Linked DNA regions of Homo sapiens: region 2 is linked to region 1. Evidence: promoter capture Hi-C in 16 types of primary human blood cells and fetal thymus (Javierre and others, 2016). All regions are on one chromosome and are shown on one strand. The core of a region is centred on a gene start or on the middle of the fragment in contact, and the rest is flanking DNA. Distances in the headings are between cores, read along the strand shown. Region 1 holds the start of AP2S1 (adaptor related protein complex 2 subunit sigma 1). Region 2 has its middle 32 kb from the start of PNMA8B.

Region 1 (3,588 bases), core at 1,010-3,509:
TAAGACAGGAATTGGCATCTAAGAGTGAGGTCCTTTTAAAATTTTGCAACCTGGACACTTTGCTTGTGTCATCCTAGTATCAACCCTGTTGGAGACAGAAAAGTACACAAGACAGAAATGATCTCTGGCCTCTTTTTGCCCCTATAATATTCAACAACTATGTGTTGGTTATTCTGCCAGTACTATACCTTAAATTTACATAATTCTACAATACATTTTGTTTTATTTATTTAATTTATTATTATTATTTCTTTGAAATGGAGTCTCTCTCTCTCTCTGTCCCCCAGGCTGGAGTGCAGTGGCACGATCTCGGCTCACTGCAACCTCCATCTCCAGGGTTCAAGTGCTTCTCCTGCCTCAGCCTCCCAAGTAGCTGGTATTACAGGCAAGTGCTACCAAGCCCGGCCAATTTTTGTATTTTTATTAGAGGTGCTGTTTCGCCACGTTGGGCAGGCTGGTCTCGAACTCCTGACCTCAGGTGATCTGCCTGCCTTGGCATTCCAAAGTGCTGAGATTACTGGAGTGAGCCACCATGCCTGGCATGCTTTGTTCTTATTAGGGCCAATCTCCCCTCAGTACTAATAGTAATAACTTTATTGACTGCTTACCATCTGTCATGTTCTAGGTAATGAAGATACAGTTATCAGACAGGGTCCCTGCCCTCAACAACTCACTACCTAATGAGAGATCTAGACAAACATACACACATACTCATAGGGCAAATAAAATAATTTTTAAAATGTAATAAAGGCCATTTAAAAAATCACGCCTGTAATCTCAATACTTTGGGAGGTGGAGGAGGGAGGATCGCTTGAGCTCAGGAGTTCAAGAGCAGCCTAGGCAACATAGCAAGACCCTGTCTCTACAAAAAGTACAAAAAATTAGCCAGGTGTGACGGCATGTGTATGTAGTCTCAGCTACTCGGGAGGCTGAAGTGGGAGGATCACTTGAGCCCAGCAGGTTGAGGCTTCAGTGAGCTGAGATCATGCCACTGCGCTACAGCCTGGGTGACCAAGGGAGACCCTCTTTCAGAAAAAAGCAAAAACAAAGACACACCAAAAAAACACTAAACTAACTGCTGACCTGGAGGGTTTTTTTTTTTTTTGACAGAGTTTCGCTCTTGTCATTCCAGCTAGGGTGCAATGGTGTGATCTCGGCTCACTGCAACCTCTGCCTCCCAGGTTCAAGCAATTCTCCTGCCTCAGCTTCCCGAGTTGCTGGGATTACAGGCACCTGCCATCACACCCAGCTAATTTTTATATTTTTAGTAGAAATGGTTTCACCGTGTTGGCCATGCTGGTCTCGAAGTCCTGACCTTAGGTGATCCACCCACCTCAGCTTCTCAAAGTGCTGGGATTACAAGCATGGGCCATCATGCCCCCGCCAAACTAGAGATTTTTTTTTTTTTTTGGAGTCTCTCTCTATTGCCCAGGCTGGAGTGCAGTGGCGAGATCTGGGCTCACTGCAACCTCTGCCTCCGGGCTTCAAGTGATTCTCCTGCCTCAGCCTCCCGAGTAGCTGGGACTACAGGTGCGCACCACCATGCCTGGCTAATTTTTTGTATTTTTAGTAGAGATGGGGTTTCGCCATGCTGGCTAGGCTGGTCTCGAACTCCTAACCAAGTGATCTGCCTGCCTCGGACTCCCAAAGTGCTGGGATTACAGGAGTAAGCCACCGCGCCGGGCCGGTTCAAATTTATGCTTTTAAACTGTTGTCTCCCGAGAGACACACGCAACGTATTTTAAGCAAAACACTGGCTTGGTGTTGTGGTGGCTCATGCCTGTAATCCTGGTGATTTGGAAGGCTGAGGGTCGCTTGAAGCTGAGTTCGAGATCAACCTAGGCAATATATCTAGACCCCTGTCTCTATTTTTAAAAAAATTAAAGAAATCACTGGATGAGGAATGGAAAGACATTTTCTATCTCCCCAGGACAGTTTTTTAAAATTTAAAACTACTATTCCCAGCATGCCCTTCTCCCCTGGGTGGGGGGAGGGGACCTAAGAGAACTACATTTCCCTGAATGCAACGCCTTCACCGCTGGTTCTTCAGCATCTCGGGAATTGTAGTCCTCTGTAAAGATGTTTGTCCACAAATCCCAGCATGCACTTGGGATCTGACTCGTTTGGTAGGAAAAGGACTGGCTCTGACTCTTCACCCATCTTCACCCAGGCTGGCCCCTTTGGTGAAACTACAACTCCCAGGGGTCTGTGCGCGAGAAGGCAGGCGGGTTTTTCTACCGGAAGTCCGCTCTAGCTCTGGGCCCTACAACTGCACCCTGAGCCGGAGCTGCCCAGTCGCCGCGGGACCGGGGCCGCTGGGGTCTGGACGGGGGTCGCCATGGTAACGGGGGAGCGCTACGCCGGGGACTGGCGGAGGGGGGGCCCACGCGTAAATAGCCGAGGCTGGATCGGGCGCTGACAAGTCCCTTCTCTGCCGCGGATGGTCTGGGTCAGGCGCGGGCTCTGGGGATTGGGACCGATCCAGGGCCGGGAAGGAGGGCACAGGGCGGTGATTCTGCGCGCGGGGGTTACCAGGGGTCTCGCGGCGACGGGCATTGGGGGTGGTGTTCCAAGGGGAAAGGGCTGTGCAGGTGGGAAACGTTGTAGATGGTTGGAAGCTTTGAAACGAGAGGAAACTCGTGAGACACAGTCTTGTGGGTAGCGAGAAGGCATTGGAGGTGGGGAGAGGGCGTCCGAAAGAGGAAGGCGCTCTGGAAGTGTGGCGGGAGCGCTGGGACGAGAACGCGAGACCTTGGAAAAGGGGAGGGAGGTTTTCTTGATGGGAGGAGTCTCTAGAGACAAGGATCTGATTGCAGGTGGAGAGGGGATGTTGAGACAGGGGCAGGAGACTGCCTGTGAGAGAGGGATGATCTCAAGAAGAGACCTGGCACAGGAAACCAAAAGGAGGCAACTGTAGGGAATGAAACTTAAGGGTCTGGGAAAGCGCTGTAAAAGGAGAGAGGACCTGGAGGTAAGATGGACACTCGGAAAGAATGGGGAGCAACTGAATAGGTCTTTCCAAGAGGAGAGATCTTGTGGGGTGGGGAGTAGGCTTGAAAGTGTGAGACCTGGGGAGGAATCTTTGTTGGGGCAAAGACTCAACATTGGATTTAGGAGTGCCCCTATCCCCCAGGTTGGGGCTTTGGATCTAGGAAAGGGTTCTTTGGGCTGGAAGTTGGGAAAGAAAACGAATGAGAAAGAGTGTCAGAGCGGGGGCGGAGTCTCCTCCAGGAACAGGGTCCTTGGAGGCAAAATGTGACCTTTTGAAGAAGGGAGGAAGCTTGGGAGTGGGACAAGGGATGTCACCAGTAAAAAGCCCATTGAGGCCCCAAGGAGGGGAACTGAGACTGAGAAAGTGGAGGTCAAAAGGGAACAACTCCAGAGGAGGGGGATTGGAGACAGGGAAGGTTGGGGGGCATCTAGAGGGGACAGCAGAGGCGTGAGGATGCAGAGATTCAGGACGGAGGGGACTTGAGATTCCAAATGGGAAGAAAACAGGGAGAGGTATACAAGGGAATTTGGGAGTAAGAGGCAGAGCTTTTTGTCAACTCTGTGGGTTTGCTTCTAGTTCTCCTAACTGTGTGAATA
Region 2 (3,407 bases), core at 103-2,602, 320 kb after region 1:
CCACTCCTAGTTTGGGAGAGGAGTCTCTCTCACCCTCAGGGTTCGTCCCCAGCCTGGTGATCTGCTGGGAGCTGCCAGCCACTCATCTCTTGAACTGGCCCAGGCCTGGGGCCCTGTGTCCCCAGGCAGAGCTCCCATAGTTCCCCGTTAGCCTAGAGGGTCACAGCTCCCAGTCCCCCAGTGTGGGTCCTGCCACTCATGGGCCCTGGTGGGCCTGAGAATCTAGTGGGCCTCCTGGGGTAGGCTCTGTCCCTGAATGGGCAGAAACAACCTTTCAGCTCTCACAGTGGGGTGACATAGTGGACGAGGGATGGGGGATGCTGGGTCTCTGGACGCATGCCTGGGGGTCTCCCTAGGGGGTTGATGGTTTTGGCCTTCAGGCAGAAAGAACCTGGTGGCAAAGTTCCAGAGGTTAGCGGAGCCTAGCATGGAGGCGGTGAGTGGGGCTGCAGTGTGTGTGCGTGGGGGTTATGATGAAGCTGCAGGGAGCAGATCACGCAGGGCCGTGGGGAGAGCCAGGGCTTTCTGCGGGAGGCTCTGGGAGCCCTGGGAGGTTCCGAGTAGGGAAAGGACAGGGTCAGGTTTGTGCCTTAGGAACACCCCTCTGGAAGGGCAGGACAAGAGGCTGTGAGGCCAGGTGGAGGCTGAGCCAGGAACGTGGGCAGGAGAGGCCAGGTCAGGGCTGGGTGGGGCTGGAGGGTGAGAAGGGAATGGCTGGATCTGAGAGATGTTCAGGAGGCCGACTTGGCAGAAGAAGTGAAGTGACTGCCGGGCTGTGGGGGCTGAGGGGTCGGGAGGAGTCCAGGATGAGGCTCAGTCTCAGCTGGGTGATGGGGTGGAAGGTGGACTTCCCTGGGATGGGAGCAGCCTGCTTGGGGGTTGCTGCTGAGGCTGCGTCAGAGTTCCGGGCAACAGCAGCCTTTGGGAGGGGCCCCTTACCCCCCAGGACCCCGGATCCAGGCTCTCAGGAGTCCTGGGGCTGGGCAGGCAGCCAGAGGGGCCTGGCACTGAGCTGGCACGGAGGAGAACGGCCCTGCTGGCCCAGGCCCCTCGCTGTCTGGCAGGCAGTAGAAGGCACAGAGCCCCAGGCTCCAGGGCTGTGGGAATAACAATAAGAAGAATAATGACAACTCACCTTGGCCAGGTGCGGTGGCGCATGCCTATAATCCCAGCACTTTGGGAGGCTGAGGTGGGCAGGAGGTCAGGAGTTCCAGATCAGCCTGGCCAACATGGTGAAACCTCCATCTCTACTAAAAATACAAAAATTAGCTGGGGGTGGTGTCAGGCGCCTGTAATCCCAGCCACTCAGGAGGCTGAGGAAGGAGGATTGCTTGAACCCAGAATATGGAGGTTGCAGTGAGCTAAGATTGCGCCACTACACTCCAGCCTGAGTGACAGAGTGAGACTCCATCTCAAAGTAATAATAATAATAATAATTACAGCTCATCTTAATTGAGCCCTGCGGTGGCCAGGTATGCCATGGCGTTTCATCTCCCTAGGGGCTGGGAGATGGCTAGGAACAGCCCTGTTTGTTTCATAGAGGAAGCATATTAATCAGAGTTCTCCAAAGAGACAGAATCAACAGGATATGTGTAGACAGAGATAGGAGAAGGGGTTTATTGGGCAACTGGCTCATTCAATTATGGAGGCGGAGAAGTCCTGAGGCTGTGTGCAGGCTGGAGACCCTGGGATGCAGGGAGTGTGGCTCAGAACAAGTCCGAAGGCCTCAGAACTGGGGAAGCCAACGGTGTAATTCTCAGTCCGAAGCCAAAGGCCTGAGGATTTGAGGGGCAGCTGGCGTAAGTCCTGGAGTCCAAGGCTGGGAAGCCTGGAGTTGTCGCTGCCTGCACTGGTTCCCACGGGGGACCAGGAGCTGAGCCCATGGTCCTCAGACGGGCAAGGTGTTTGATTTTAATGTAGTTATAGCTAAGGTTGATGAAGTGTGCCGGTGTGAGCAGCTTAGCTATGGACAGTTTTGGGGTGCAGAAACCAAGACTTGGAGGTTAAACATGTCCAGGGTTGCACCATCAGCACTGGTGCCCGGGCAGCCTGACTTCCGCGTTCATGGAATCCAGGGCTGGGCAGCCTGGGGACAGCCGCTGTGCCCCCACCTCGGCCTCAGTGTGCACGCCCCTTCCCTCCCACCCAGGTGGTCAAGGTGAAGCCCCACGACAAGGATGCCAAAATGAAATACCAGGAGTGCAACAAGATCGTGAAGCAGAAGGCCTTTGAGCGGGCCATCGCAGGCGACGAGCACAAGCGCTCCGTGGTGGACTCGCTGGACATCGAGAGCATGAGTGAGTCAGGCCTGGATGCTCCACGCTCCAGCCCAGAACATTCCACACGGGCCTTCTCCATTCCCTGGGGGTGGGGGTGGGCTCAAGGGTAGCCCCTTGTTCTGCCCCCAGGCTGCTGTCTGTCGCTCCTCTGCCTGTGTTCCAGGGCGCTCCATCCGCAGCCCAAAGCTCCGTCTCATGATTCCCAATGGGCGAGGTCAGGAGCTGCAACACCCCGCTGATATGGCTTGGCTGTGTCCCCACCCAAATCTCATCCCCACCCAAATCTCATCTTGAATTGTAACTCCCATAATTCCTACATGTTGTGGGAGAGACCTGGTGGGAGATAATTGAATCGTGGAGGCAGTTTCCCCCATACTGTTCTCGTGGTAGTGAGTAAGTCTCACGAGATCTGATGGTTTTATAAGGGGTTTCCCCTTTCACTTGGTTCTCATTCTCTCCTGCCTGTCGGCACATGAGACGTGCCTTTCATCTTCCACCATGATTGTGAGACCTCCTCAGCCACATGGAACTGTGAGTCCATTAAACCTCTTATTCTTTATGAATTACCCAGTCTCGGGTATGTCTTTATCAGCAATGTGAAAATGGACTAATACACCTTCCCTACCCACCAGCATCACCCCTGCCCGGGCCCTTCTCCATGCTGGCTTCTTGGCCACTCTGTCATCCTCTCCTCCCTCCCTCTCTGCCGGCAGTAGCCCCGCCCCCACAGGCTGTGTCTGGTTCACCTCTAGGTGCTGAGAAGGTCCAGCCATTCATCCCACAGATGATTATTGAGCATCTCCTATGTGCCAGGCACTGTCCTAGGCACTGGGGGTACAGCTATGAACAAAACCCTTCCTGTCCGCATGGAGCTGATATTCTAGGAGGCAGATAAGATGATGAACAAGTCACAAAATGAATCGTGCTAAGTGCCATAAAACTGAATAGGGTAAAGGGGGGCGGGTGAAGGAAGAGAAGGAGGTCAGGAAGAGGCCTCTGGGCCAGACCTGACCAGAGAGGGGACTCTTCACTCGCTCTGTCCCTCTCTCAATCTGTGTGTCCAGAGCCAGGTCCACCTCATCCCTGGGAGCAAGACCCCCTTCCCCCTTACAGTGGCCGTGGTCGCTG

The links. Contacts are between HindIII fragments. The CHiCAGO score rates a contact against its expected background, and 5 or more counts as called.
Region 2: a fragment that was not itself captured here is called in contact with the fragment with the promoter of AP2S1 in region 1 in 1 of 17 cell types (total B cells); the score reaches 5.8 in total B cells.

The regions. Positions count from the first base shown.
Region 1 is chr19:46,849,517-46,853,104 of GRCh38, reverse strand. AP2S1 (adaptor related protein complex 2 subunit sigma 1) reads left to right here and starts at 2,259. Exons shown (of 5, transcript NM_004069.6): 1 at 2,259-2,341. The coding sequence starts at 2,339. RefSeq lists an enhancer at 1,935-2,244. The HindIII fragment of the contact is 13,627 bases long and covers 1-2,620 here.
Region 2 is chr19:46,525,815-46,529,221 of GRCh38, reverse strand. It overlaps the pseudogene PPP5D1P. Among named protein-coding and RNA genes, the nearest start is that of PNMA8B, 32 kb to the right of the region's middle. The HindIII fragment of the contact is 4,232 bases long and covers 1-3,407 here.